Linked DNA regions of Homo sapiens: regions 2, 3, 4 and 5 are each linked to region 1. The links are contacts of gene promoters, found by promoter capture Hi-C in human tissues and cell types (Jung and others, 2019). All regions are on one chromosome and are shown on one strand. The core of a region is centred on a gene start or on the middle of the fragment in contact, and the rest is flanking DNA. Distances in the headings are between cores, read along the strand shown.

Evidence for each region. Contacts are between HindIII fragments. The study calls those that stand out against the background at their distance.
Region 2: a fragment that was not itself captured here is called in contact with the fragment with the promoter of FLRT3 in region 1 in 1 of the 25 tissues and cell types used here (lymphoblastoid cells).
Region 3: a contact is called between a fragment that was not itself captured here and the fragment with the promoter of FLRT3 in region 1, in 1 of the 25 tissues and cell types used here (dorsolateral prefrontal cortex).
Region 4: a contact is called between a fragment that was not itself captured here and the fragment with the promoter of FLRT3 in region 1, in 2 of the 25 tissues and cell types used here (dorsolateral prefrontal cortex and mesenchymal stem cells).
Region 5: a fragment that was not itself captured here is called in contact with the fragment with the promoter of FLRT3 in region 1 in 1 of the 25 tissues and cell types used here (dorsolateral prefrontal cortex).

What each region holds. Positions count from the first base shown.
Region 1 is chr20:14,336,223-14,339,107 of GRCh38, forward strand. FLRT3 (fibronectin leucine rich transmembrane protein 3) reads right to left here and starts at 1,390. Exons shown (of 3, transcript NM_198391.3): 1 at 1,182-1,390. The region is part of intron 3 of MACROD2 (mono-ADP ribosylhydrolase 2); the gene reads left to right. The HindIII fragment of the contact is 3,050 bases long and covers 462-2,885 here.
Region 2 is chr20:14,966,030-14,968,914 of GRCh38, forward strand. The region is part of intron 5 of MACROD2 (mono-ADP ribosylhydrolase 2); the gene reads left to right. Among named protein-coding and RNA genes, the nearest start is that of MACROD2-AS1, 38 kb to the left of the region's middle. The HindIII fragment of the contact is 6,624 bases long and covers 1-2,885 here.
Region 3 is chr20:14,945,152-14,948,036 of GRCh38, forward strand. The region is part of intron 5 of MACROD2 (mono-ADP ribosylhydrolase 2); the gene reads left to right. Among named protein-coding and RNA genes, the nearest start is that of MACROD2-AS1, 17 kb to the left of the region's middle. The HindIII fragment of the contact is 6,808 bases long and covers 1-2,885 here.
Region 4 is chr20:14,878,812-14,881,696 of GRCh38, forward strand. The region is part of intron 5 of MACROD2 (mono-ADP ribosylhydrolase 2); the gene reads left to right. Among named protein-coding and RNA genes, the nearest start is that of MACROD2-AS1, 49 kb to the right of the region's middle. The HindIII fragment of the contact is 4,918 bases long and covers 1-2,885 here.
Region 5 is chr20:14,861,466-14,864,350 of GRCh38, forward strand. All of the region lies in intron 5 of MACROD2 (mono-ADP ribosylhydrolase 2), which reads left to right. Among named protein-coding and RNA genes, the nearest start is that of MACROD2-AS1, 67 kb to the right of the region's middle. The HindIII fragment of the contact is 5,024 bases long and covers 1-2,885 here.

The DNA.
Region 1 (2,885 bases), core at 140-2,639:
GATGAGCATTTTAGACAGATTTATTAATAGACAGATTTATTAAGAATGTTTAAAATAGCCTTATTATTAAAACCATTAGAGATTTTGGACTAAAAATTGAAAAAAAAATCAATTTTTTTTCTTTTAAATTCTAAATAAAATAATAAAAACAAACCCCCCAGATGTTGAGAAGACATGGATGGGCCTGTTGCACTCTTTACCTATATGCAACCATTTTGTTTCAGACCTAATTCAGTGAACAAAATTTTTTGAGAAGATACATTTAACTACTTTTTCAAGCTTTGTAGTATAAATGCATTTCTTCCAATATAAGATTTTCCTATTATAAGTTGCAAAGAATGGATCCTCTGCAAAACCCACTTGATAAGGGCTCTACTCATTTATTTTTCTTTCCTGCTACCCCAAACTCACTGCATACATCAGGCATAGCTTCCAGGGTGAGCTTTGTTAGTTTTTCTGAGTAGACTTAGCCATTTACTATGCTAGTCACATACTTCACTTGCCTAAGCAATGGATTTTGGTGTTCTATTGAAGAGGGAATATGGTTTGGAAGAGTGTCTCCCCCTCCTCTGAGTTCAATTTACTAGTTGAGATTTGCAAGCCTGAAATGCTTGAAGCAGCTCAGGCACGATAGCAGTGCAAGCTTTAAAATCTAGGTGTAGCTGTTAATCCTTTACAGAGGCACATAAGTCTCCAGGAGTAGCTCGGCTAGCTGTGAGCAAGATGTATGCTTTTCATGTACTGCGTACTCATGGGCTGAGGGATTATTGATTTTCTTTCACAGTTGTAAAAACAGCAATTGGTGATCATCCCACACGTACAGTACACACCAAGTTGCTTTCCTATCTGTGAAGAATCTCCTTGTATTCTTTAATATTTAACATTGAACTTTCCAACTTGCTGTTTTCCATAAGGCTCTTTTCACATAGCAATTACTCAAGACAGAAAATAGCCACTTACTATCTTTTATAAATGAAAGAAGGTTCTAAGAAACTTCTTACATTCAGCCATGATAGTGAAATTTTTCATTGCTGGCTTGCACGCACATATATTGCTTGTTGTGGTGACAGAGCAAACGTTCCTATTTGGATTTCTCATAGTATCAAGTCGTTTCTTTCTAGAGAGTAAAACCAAGCAAACTTTCTGGGACAATCATAAGAAAAAACATGGAAAACACTTACCAGGAAGACGAGAAAAAGCAATCCTATATACACTGCCGCTATAGCTGTAATTCCATTGACAGTGAATTGGAGTAATAGCCCTCCCCCGTCTCCCAAGCTCTGCGTCCAGTCCACACAAAGCCCACGGCAGCTGCAGGCTGAGCTTGTCCTGCTTCAGATCACTCCTACACTGAGGAGTGAGCGAGGGAGAGCATTCCAGTTTACTGCACACAGCCCACCTCCAAGTCTGAAGTTTAAAGCTTCACCTCGCAGTGGCTGAAGAAGGGGGTGATGTCATAGATGGGCAGGACTTAGCCAAGATCTTGTTCAGTGAGGTAACTGGATAATCAGACAGATGAGCTTTGCAAACGCTAGAGGGGGCGAGAGCAGCCAAAATGAAGCATCAGCCTGCCAAAGCTAGGATGCCATTTGGTTTGTAGGCAGCCCTTTGGAATCTCAACATTTTCTAAAGTTTACTACAAGGCAGTGGTAGCATACTTATGTATTTTTTTTAAAAAGCATGTTAGAAAGATATTTTTAAGATCACAATAGAAAAAGACAGGCTTTGTCTTATTTTTAAACCATCTGTATTGAAAAGAAGTTAACCAAAATCAAATTAGTTTTATTATTCACTAGCTAAAATAATGTTATAATTGTGGAAGATGTATGCCAGTAATCCCAACTGTGAATGTTTATTCAACATATGAATAAACAGCAGATTCAAATATATACATCAGGGCTGGGTGTGGTGGCTCACGCCTCTAATTCCGGCACTTTGGGAGGCCGAGGTGGGAGGATCACCTGAGGTCAGGAGTTCGAGACCAGCCTGACCAACATGTAGAAAAAATTAGCTGGGCGCCCGTAATCCCAGCTGTTTGGGAGGCTGAGGCAGGAGAATCACTTGAACCCGGGAGGCAGAGGTTGCAGTGAGCCAAGATTGCACCATTGCACTCCAGCCTGGGCAACAAGAACGAAACTCCATCTCCAATATATGTATATATATACACGTGTCACTGATTCATTTAGTTATGGGAAGGGCAATAGGAATGCCAAAAGATTTTTTTAAATGGTATTAAATGGTCTGTTCTTTTGGAGGCGAAGAAGTTACTGTTCTCTATGTTTTAGAAAATGAAAGTATGTTTTATGTACTTCTGCTACGTGTTTATATTATTTAAAATGGATTATTTATATTTAACGATCCCCCAATAAAATGTTTTTAAAAAATTTAATAGAATATTTTCCTTTCTAAATGTTTTTGCTGATCTGAGCATGGGTTTAGATATAAACATCTTAAGAAAAAAATCTTTCAGGGTGGTTTGCCTGGATTGAAATTATTTTAGTTTAATTTAGGTACATGAATAAACACTGGACAATTGTAAGACGTGGAGATTATAAATTTCTATGCCTAATTAACAGAATTATACTTGTATTTTTAATTATGATTTTTGTAGACTGGTTTCTGCTATTTGGTCAACAATTGCTTTGTGCCCGTAAGTTTTCCATCAAATAAGTGTATTTCACTTGTTCATGTTGGTGGTAAGAACTTAGCTTTTATATTTACCTGGAGGACCGTTGTCTTAAACTAATATCTTTATTTGCTCTATTCTTAGAGGTGCATGACCTTCTCCTTTGTCCTTTCTCAATTTTTCCCTGCATGTTTATTTCTGAAGAAGGCCAGCTAATAGTCTTTCCCAGGACTATTTGATTGTGGTCTCTTCATTAGCT
Region 2 (2,885 bases), core at 126-2,625, 630 kb after region 1:
TATTAAGAACTTGAGAAAACTAACGAGTATTTATTACTCCTGAAGTGAAAGATAATGAGACAAAATCCTGAAGACATTTCTCTTTTGGATAACTGTGGTTTTAAACTCCATAAGCAATAAAGCCACTGTCAATGGAATTATTTTAGATGTTATCTTTTGACGATGGATTATGTTTTTTCTTGTCTTTTTAATATTAATTTACATTTAGTTATGTCATATAGTAAAGCATGCTAATCTTAAGCATATGTACTTGTGTAACCACCTCCGATGAAGATATGGAACATGCCTATAATCCCAGCACTTTGGGAGGCTGAGGCAGGGGGAGCGTTTGAGCCCAGGAGTTTGACACCAGCCTGGACAGCATAGTGAGACTCCATTTCTACGAAGAATAAAAAAGTCATTAAAGCATGGTGGTGCATGCCTGTAGACCCAGCTACTCAGGAGGCTGAGGTGAGAGGATTGCTTGAGGCCAGGTTGTCAAGGGTGCAGTGAGCTGTGATTGTGTCACTGCACTCCAGCCTGGGCAACAGAGCAAGAACCTGTCTTCAGATGCTTCTTCATCACCCTTCTCATTTCATCCTCTCTTCCCGTACAAAGCAGCCATTCTTCTGAGCTCTGTCATCATCCATTAGTTTTGCCTGTTCTTGAACTTCATGTAAATAGATTCATACTATATGTTCTCTTTTGCATCTAGACTCTTGCTCAACAAGACATTTTGAAGTAATCTATGTTGTTGCATATACAAACAATTCATTTTTTACACTACCATGTAGTATGCCATTGTATGTACAGGCATTTTTTTATCACTGTTGTGCCAATGGGTATTTGAATTTTTCCTATTCATAATTTAACAATTATGTATAAAGCTGCTATGAACATTCTTGAAGCTGTCTTTTCATGAGCAATTACATTCACATTTCTCTGAAATATATACAGGAATTGAATTGTTTAAACAAATAATTTATGGTATGTGTGTAATAGTGGATATGTATTGATGGGTGTGTACTGATATTTCAATGTGGTTTTAATTTGCATTTCCTTGAAAAGAATGACATTGAATACTTTTTCATGTTCTTATCAGCCATTTGAATCTTTTTTTGTAAATGCTTCAAGTCTTTGCTGATTTTAAAATCAATTTCTTTCTAAATGATTTTTGTTAGTTTTGTTTGTTTGTTTGTTTTGAGACGGAGTCTCTCTCTGACACCCAGGCTGGAGTGCAATGGTGCCATCTCTGCTCACTGCAACCTCCACCTCCCTGGATCAAGCAATTCACCTGCCTCAGCCTCCTGAGTAGCTGGGATTACAGGTATTTTTAGTAGAGACGGGGTCTCACCATGTTGGCCAGACTGGTCTCGAATTCCTGAACTCAGGCAATCCGCCCGCCTCGGCCTCCCAAAGTGCTAAGATTACAGGCGTGAGCCACCGTGCCTGGCCGGTAGTTTTGTTTGTTTGTTTGTTTTTGTTTTTTTTGAATGCTTTGGATTTGAGTCCATCATCAGATATAGACTGTGAATATTATTTCTCAGTCTGTGTCTTGCCACTTCACTCTCTTAGTGTCAACTTTTGATGAACAGAAACTCTACAAATTAGACTTAAATGTAATTTTTTAAATGATTAATGATTGTTTCCTGTTTAAGTAAACTTGCCTATTCCATTTCTTATTTTCTTATTTATCCAATTCTCTTCCATGCTAGTGCTTTTGAGTTCTATGTGAGAAGTCTGCCAATTTACTTCATATTTTCTTAAGCAAAATATTTTGAACAAAACTTAGCTTTCCTAATGACTCAGGGTCCTCATTTTTAATAGTAATTACTACTGTCCAATAAATTTTATATAACCTACCCGATAGTGTTGTTACCAGGATAAGGAAGATATGTATGAAAATTCTTGATACATGCAGGCTGTTGTCCTTTTTGTTCTACTCTAATACTTCTTATTCTTATTAAGGGTATAGGACAGTTATTAATATTTTTATGCTCAGTGGTTTTCGACAACTCTAAATTTTAAGTTATTATATCAAATTCTGGGCTGGACAGGTAAGGTGTTTGCCATACATGATTGCAATTGTGAGGTTTCTTTGTGTATAAAGTCTTTAAATTTATATGGTAGGTCAAAAAACATATTAGCTGATAATAATACTTACTTTCAAATATCACTTAAAATTTCTCTTCAAAAGCATTTTTTTAAATCTCTTTTTAACACCTTGACCCAATGAAGTAAAATAAACAAGATGATACTCCCGTTAAATGTGTGTACAATCATTCAGCTGCTGTGGCAGAATATACAACAGTTCTCAGCCCTGTGTGGTCCTTTCTCAATTTGTCACTCAATTGATTGTACTCATACATGTGTTAGACCAACATCCTCAATACCGTTTGTTGGTTAGCATCATCTGGGGAGACTGTAAAAGCATAAGAATATTCAGCTACCAACCCAGGGGGTTCTTTAAATTAGTGGGACTGGGGTGGTGTCCAGGCATCAGTTGTAAAAAAAAAGAAAAAAAATATTTTATTGTGCAACCTGGACGTGATTCTCCTGTTGGCTTGGGGCAGGGTTATGCAAACTTCAGCATGCATTAGAATCACCTGAAGGGCTTGTTCAAGCACAGACTGGGGGGCTCCACCCCCAGAGTTTCTGATTCAGTAAGTCTGGATGGACCCAAGAATTTGCAATACTGGAAAGTTTTCAGATGATGCTGATGCTGCTGGCTGGGGACCACAGTTCGATAACCTCTGGATTAGATAGCCATCACCATCCCTACCACAAGTAAAACTTGCTGGTCATTCTCATCTGTTGCTGTCTCCCATCTGCCTCTTCTAGCCCTGGGGTTCAAGTTCTGTTTGTTTGTTTTGTTTTGTTTTCACGCACAATACTAAGCTATTTAT
Region 3 (2,885 bases), core at 194-2,693, 610 kb after region 1:
TACTGCCCAGGCTGGAGTGCAGTGGGCCTGATCTTGGCTCACTGCAACCTCTGCCTCCCAGGTTCAAGCGATTCTCCTGCCTCAGCCTCCCAAGTAGCTGGGATTTAATAGAGCTGGGTTTTCATCATATTTGCCAGGCTGGTCCTGAACTCCTGACCTCAAATAATCTGCCCGTCTTGGCCTCCCAAAGTGCTGCTGGGATTTCAGGTATGAGCCACCATGCCTGGCCAACTTTTCCTTTGAGAAATCAAGTCAGGAAACACTGGACCAGCATTCTGGACTGAAGACAGGGGCGTCAAGGTTACAAGTGGCTGTCACCTTAGTAAGGGTGTGATTGTCCACTTCACCAGCCAGCCCACTTCATTGTATCATCTTCTTGGACCTTGCAGCCTTTACATTTGGGTACCTTCCTTGCTAAATAACATCACCTTAGTCTTATTTATTAAAGGATTACCAATTGCAAAGCTGTTTTCTAGGAACTCCTGGGTATATGGAGATGTGTAAGAAGAACCGAATGCTTTTAAAGAGCTTGGGGGAATGAACTGCGGGAGACAAAAGCAAGCATGTGACTGTCCTGTGATAGCAAAGTACTTGCATGGAATGATCCCTTAAAGGAGGGTGAGAAAATAAAATGAGAAAATAAACTTAGTAGCTCACTATTTGGGTATTTTTGTATACTCACATAGAGTTTTATGGTGGCCTCACTTGTTATTGATACTCTAATTATTGTTGATGAAATTTATCTGCATTTTAGTAAGAATTTCATATAATGCAGGCTGTGTGAAGTGGCTTATGCCTGTAATCCTAGCACTTTGGGAGGCCGAGGTGGGTGGATCACCTGAGGTCAAGAGTTCGACACCAGCCTGGCCAACATGGTGAAACCCTGTCTCTACTAAAATTAGCCGGGCATATTGGCGAGTGCCTGTAATCCCAGCTACTGGGGAGGCTGAGGCACGAGAACTGCTTGAGCCCAGGAGGTGGAGGTTGCAGCGAGCCAAGATTGTGCCATTGCACTCCAGCCTGGGTGACAAGAACAAAACTCTGTCTCAAAAAAAAAAAAATTGTATAAACTGGAAACTCAGTGAATGTTGTGGAATAAATGCAAATTAATCTTTTTCCAAGTAAGCAAATTCTCAAAGTATGTTTCTTTAGAATATTTTTTGTTGATCACTATCTATCTAGTTCTATCACATATCTGTATCTAAATACCAATAATATATGGATTTTAAAGAAGATGATATATATCAGAAAAAATTACACTTAAAATTTTTCCAATATGTTGTATTTAAATAAAATACAAGGGGCATTATCAGGTTAATTAATTGCAGATAAAAGTAAATATAGATATATATGAGCCTTTTTCTTTCTTTTTTTTACTTTTACTCTGCTTGGTGTTGCATAAATATGATAGCATATAATTTTTGATGCAGGATTTTTTCACTTTATGTTGAGATGTTTTGTATGCTGAAATAAAAATATGAGAATAAGCAATAATTATTGTAAGGTCAGCATCTGTTGATTTTCTTTTCCTCCAGGTAAAAATAGACATTAGTTTATCAGTTTAGAGAAAAGAACACAGGTGCTTCCTAGTGGCAGGCACCTAGCACACTCCAAGTAGGAATTCATAGATATGCCTTTTTAAAGTTTATTTCTTTTAATTCACTTTCATTCCACGTGATTTATTTTTTGTGGAGGGAAGAAGTAGATTCAATTTTGTATTCTCCCCCAATGGCTGATGAAAGTATGGACAATGTGTATTTTGCTATGCATGTGAGGTGTATGTGTGCATGTACAACACATACACATATATATTTTGGTGGAGACACAAAGGACATTTATTTGGGCAACTCCAAACCTGTTTAAGTTTGATCCCTTCCAGATGGCCGGATACCTGGCTGTCGGATCCTTGGCTCAGCCCATTTCTTATCTCCCAAATATCCCTTTGTGCTTCTCTGAGAATACGGCATATCTTAGAGCTGGATGAGTTTCCTGTTAGGACAGCTCACAGATTCGCCGAGCAAGCTGGGGACAGTCAAAGTTGTCTTACAGAAAAGGCTCACATCTTTTAACAAATGTACGTCTTTGAAAAGTGCATTTTGCTCTATAACAATGTTTCTGGCTTTGTTATAGAGGCAGAACAGCAAAGTGAAGTGATTCAGAACATTGGGAAGACCAGCATGATTCCATTTCTGACTCCGGCATTGGCCACAGGCCCTTGTGTATGCTCTGCAAACTAGCTGAGCCTCAGTTTACCTTCCATACACGGGGGCACCAGCAGTACCTACCTCACAAGGGTGTTGTAAAGAATAAATGTGATAATTCAAGTAAAGGCTTTAGCAAGATGATTGGTTCATAATAAGTGGTAAACACATGGTAACTAATAGTAATAATATTGGTGCTAAGGCATTTGTGCTAAGACAGTGGGGCTCAAATTTGAGTGTGCATCAGAGTCACCTAGAGGGCTTATTAAAACACAGATGGCCTACCCCCCACCCTGCAGAGTTCTGACTCAGGAAATCTGGATTTTGCATTTCTAGCAAGCTCCCAGGGAATGCTAATGCTGCTGGCCCTAAAACTGCAGAATGACCACTGACCTAAGGCATTCAGACTCCAGACTATTTCTTGGGGCAGGTGAGGACTGCAGTTTGGTCATGGATCAGAGTGAAGGATCAGATGTGGGATTACATCCTTCAACCTTGGGCAATGCTTCTACAGCCACGATCCTGGTAGCTCAATGCTGGCCCAGTGTTTATCAAGTACAACAAAAATAGGAAGTCCTGTATTTGCTTACATCTACCATTCAACAACTCACAAAAACTTTCTATCTTGTTTTTCACATCCTTAACTTTCAAGGAGCAGCTCCCTCGCCTGCTCCAGAGCAAGTA
Region 4 (2,885 bases), core at 265-2,764, 540 kb after region 1:
ATTACACTCTTCCAGTTCAAAGGCCCATCTGAAATGGGCTGCTTCTATTATGTTGCCCAGGCTTTCTTATCTCTAGCTCTTTGCCCTGATACCTTTGTCTTTCTACTTGGAGTACCTATTCTTTCCATCTTTAATACCCCACCTTCATTAAATGACCCTTTCTAATTACTTCCTGCATGCTTCAGCCAGATGTAATCTCTTCTCTCTGATTATCACATAACACTATTTTGTGCTTCTGTGGTTTTCACCTTACTCATCTCTGTTGTACTGACAAATGGACTGTGAGCTCCGTATTTTTTATCTTCACCCTTATGCATTGCGTAATTAAAACCTTGTACACAGTACAGGTTCAGCAAACACACACTGAATAAATTAATAAGTAGGTGAATAGTTTTGTTGTTTACATTCACTAACAACCCATTCTGATTCATGTTTACATGGACAGAAAAAGAATGAGTTGATTATTAACTAAATTTAATGTATGTCATCTGTATACCTAAATTCTTTGGGTTAATATTAAAAAAGTATTCTTCCAAGTTAGCATGAATTTGACCTATCTTTTAGAGTGTTCAGATTGGTTCACTCATGTTGACATTAGTCAGTTTTGAAATTCAGACATAAAGGTATACACATATAGATTTGACATTTGAGATTAACTTACTTTTTTCCAGTTAGATTATGGAAGAGATAAACAATGACTCAGAGGAAAATGGAGAGGCTATAGAGGTGAAATACTGTAATAATGTGGCTAAACTTGCTTGAGAGAAGATGAGACATAAGCCTGCTTTGTTAGTCCTTTCATAGAGAAATGACTCAGCACTGTTAGAGAATATGATGAGGTTACATTGTTCTTTCATCACAAACTGTTGAGTTAATGGTGGCATATATAGAGTATAGCTCTGATTCATAAGACAATTGGTCATTGTGCTTCTCTCTTTTTATTTTTTAAAGCAAATTAGTGCTTTAAAAGAGCATAGTAATCTGGTTCTTTTCATGAAAACTGATGATTAAAAACAAACTACGAAAATAATTTTAAATACACCTGGGTTTCCAAATGGACAGAGGTTGTTGAAAGTCATTTTTAAGTTCCTTCAAAGCTACAAAGTCTATGTGTTTCTCAAATTATCTTTTGCAAATCTTAGTAGGAATTAAACTTGTGCAAATCCAACCCCTGGCTCTTTTTAGCCTCGTGAGAGCAGAGTATGCATCGTGCTTTCGTTTTGGATGAGAAATATACAAACTGTGTGTTGACTGGTGGAAAGCAGAACAATGGATCTCAGCAAATTGTATCATGCCCAGCTCTGACTTGAGACGCAGAATCAATTCATTTTCAGTGTCATGACAGGATCTGAGATAGAAGTGAGTCTCTTGTTGCCATCATGAGAAAAGATACGTATGTCCACAGTTTTGGGGAGAGGGAGCATGGGAGCTGGGTGCTTCACTGCCAACACAGCCTCTGATCACCTGATATGTTACAAAATCAATTTTATCTTCTGCTGCATTTCATGTGACAATTCAAAGAGCAACATTTGTTTTTCTACTCTTTACATTCTCAACTTCCATGGAGGCATAATTGCCATGAGTTAAAGCTAGGAGGAGAGTGATCACTGCACACTGATTTGGATATAAAATCTATGGCCATTTGAAAGGGAAACCTTCAAGAGCCCACGTAATAAATCCCCGAGGAACTTAAGAGAGATGAACTGTACCTAATTGCATCTGACATGGCTAAAACACAGGGACCTCTCTAAAGAGTGTGAGGGCAGGTCCCCAAATCCTCTGCTCAGCACTATTCAAGGTTCAGAAGAATTCATGCATTTAGCTTATCTACAGCTATGTGGCAAAACACCCTTCAGCTGCAGTCAGCCTCCCTCTAATGACCAATGAGGAGAGGCCAAAAATTAAAGTTGTATAATCAGAGATTTTAAAGACAAACTGAAAAGAACTGGTGGAACCGTCTAACTTATGCCTTGGAATGGCATGCATTATTTTGTATATGATTTTGGGCCTCAGAACACAAACACAACTCCCTCCACAAAGGGGATGAGTTTGCTGGGCCAGAGTGGCCTCTTGTTGCTGGGAGCTACTGCCGCCCAGCGTGGGCAGCTGCAATCACAGTGCCCCTATCCCTGCCTGAGTGGTCCTGGAGGGTTGGAGAGCTGCGTGACTCCTCAAGACCTTTGTCACTAGCCTGTGTAATGCCTGTGCATGAGTCCTTGAAAGCAAATCCCCCAATTAGGGCCTACATGGCCTACCCTGAGGAGGGAAGAGGTGCAATACATGTTGCTTTTAACAATTCTTCATCAGGAATGAGAGGATGTTGCAATGGAAAGGAAAATATTAATTCCTGCTAGGCCCTTGTCAGTGGGATCTTCTCCCATTCTCTTCCTGCTGGAATTACAGATCCATAGGTTTTGGAGCCAGTCAGCCTGGGTTCTTTCATGCATTCCCTTCTTCTGGTGGGCTTGACCATACTAGATATCAAATACTGTGACTCAAAGTTCTACCACCTCTGTTGACTTAAAGGTCAAACCTAGAACAAGCCTTGGTCTCTAGGTCTAAGAGGCAAAATAAAAGCTGGTGAACCTTCTTACTGACAAGGCACTTGACTTCCCTGTGCCTCAGACTTCAAATCTATAAAACGAGACTCACTGTTCTTATCTCTGAGGTTTATTGCTTGGAATTGAATGGGGTAATTCATAAATTCCCTAGCCTGGCACCCCACACACGGCCTCTTCAAGAAGTTTCGGGGTAGCTCTCTTGCCAGTCAGCTGAGAAAACCAAGCAGTGAGAAGAGGGTCATATATTGACTTGGTTTTCATGCTGACAGGCTTTGGCATCTCCTCAAGCTTGTCCATACTCTACAGTGGCATTAAGAGAGTAGT
Region 5 (2,885 bases), core at 147-2,646, 530 kb after region 1:
GAACAAACAGGAAAGAAATACCCTGACCTTCCTCTCCTACTCTCTGATATCCTGCTGATGCCTCCAATTAGAAGCCAGACTATGAGGGAGCTGGGGGAATGCACTCTGCATGGATCAACCTCCTGTAGTCTATGTAGTGGGGAAAATGGGTGAATAACCAGCACAGAGCTCACAATAAACCCCACAAACAGCCTCTGTCCCTCCCACACACAACCCCAGGAATTAGAAGGAAGGGCAGACTGGCACTTTCTCATTAAGGTAACTCACTCATGCCATCTTGGCATTGAGCTGGGCACTTTTAGGTGGAATGACCTCCCGAAGGGCTAACCCCATCTGGCACCTCTTGACAACGTTCCTTCTTAATATCAGTGGCTCTCCTGCTGCTGGCCAAGCAGGACCCCAAGGTCCACTGGGATGTACATACTTATGGTATTATGCTCTGCAATACTTGTGGGGGCTGTGGAATGCACACTTCCAAAGTGAAATAGGACATTGGAGGTTTTATATATAAATATATATATATATATTTATATATATATTTATATATATATATTTATATATATTTATATATATTTATATATATATTTATATATATATAAATATATATAAATATATAAATATATATAAATATATATTTATACATAAATATATAAATATATAATATATATAAATATATATTATACATAAATATATAAATATATATAAATATATATAAATATATATTTATACATAAATATATAAATATATATATATATAAATATATATAAATATATATTTATATATTAATATATATAAATATATTACTATGTATATTTATATATATTTATATAAATATATATAAATATATGTAAATATATATATAAAAATATATATTAATATATAAAAATATATATATAAATATATATAAATATATATATAAATATATATAAATATATATATATAAATATATATAAATATATATATAAATATATATAAATATATATATAAATATATATAAATATATATATATAAATATATATAAATATATATATAAATATATATAAATATATATATAAATATAAATATATATAAATATATAAAAATATATATATAAATATAAATATATATAAATATATATGTATAAATATATATATAAATATAAATATATATAAATATATATATATAAATATATATATAAATATATATATATAAATATATATATAAATATATATAAATATATATATAAATATATATAAATATATATATATATATTTTTTTTTAATAGAGAGGATGAAGACCAAAGCAGTGAGTTCCACCTAAGCTGGCCCTTGCCTTTTGTCTAACAGGAAACCCAGTCCTTCCTAATGGGCACAGAATTTTCAGAGAAGAGAGCAGAAGTTGAGTTGGCATACCTACTGTAGTGAGGGATTTTGAACAATGAGCTGTACATTCCTATATGGGAGCCAAACTTTTAGTTAAATAGTAATACAAAAATGCTGATGTGGATGCCACGGCTTCCTCCTTTCACACAGAAGATGGGCAGTGACTACACATTTAGGTTCACCTTGCATGAAGCCACGCTATAGTTTCTAATAAGGTATTATTAGTATTCACTAGCCATTCTCCAAGGGTTGGCTTCAAATGAGATCAGTAAAGCAGAAGCAAATCACCCACGGGTTCTTTCACAGTTTCTTTCACCCTAAGCCTCTCATTTCACTAGACAACTGTAGGAAGAAAAACGAGATCCCTGAAGGGCAGCAACTTTTCATAAACTGCACTTGCAGTTTTGCCAATGCACATATCTGTGGGCTCATTGCACAGGCAGCGCTTATATCTATGGGCACATTTCACATTGTAGATTTCTTGTCCTTTCTGATTTTCTCCCCGATCACACTGATACAGGCCACTTCCAGTGCCTCTGTAAAGCTCCAAGGGGTAAAGGAGGGCAGGGGTGAGGAGTAAAGGAACGATTCTTACAGGTGTTGTGAACACGACTATTTTATATCAAATGCTTCTAATTGAATAGTTTAACTTAAAAACATGTATCACAAATACAGTTTGACCAACTGTAACAATATCAAAGCATATTGAACAGGAAGTGAAAGTCTTTGGGTGTGGATAGAGATTTCCAGAAAAATATAGTTACATAAATGTGAGTTTCCAAATTGTAAAGAAGAAAAAAGACATATCTGGCTTAATATATATAACATTAATATCATGCATAGAGATTCTATTAATAACATTTGTCAGCCACTATTGCTAAGAGCTTTACATCCATTTTATCCTCACATCAATACTATTAAAGAGGAACTATTATTATCTTCATACGATAGATGAAAAAACAAAGGCTGTAAGAGTTTAAGAAACTTGTCCAAAATCATGTAGCTAGAAAGCGGCCAAGCCAGGATTCAGACCTTGGTTAACCCACTTACAAACTCTAAACTCACTTCTCCATTGTTAAACTTGACTAGTGCATTGGCTTACAATGAAGTTTGCCATATTCTTCCCTCAAATCTGTATTTTTAATAAGTTGCTAGGTGATTTTTATGGTCAGGAGAAGTGGGGCCATACTACATGATGTAGGCTATTTCCTGAGTATAGATAATTTCTTTCTTTTCCCTTAGGTGTCCATTTTCTAAAATGTGGATGAGAACACTCTCTATGTGTCCTGCAAAATTTAAAAAGTTTCCATTTTAAAATATGTTTTATAAATACTAAATAACATGTCCTTTTCTTGCTGCCTAAGACATGATTATTGGTATGAAAATGCTATGAGAAGTCCTATAGTAAAGACATTTTTGTCCAGAGAATCTGACTTTTGTCTTTCTCCAGAGAAAGCAACCTGACTTTTGTCTTTTACCAAATAATATCTGTTTGTGTATCCTTCAGTTGTGCCCTTTGGAGAG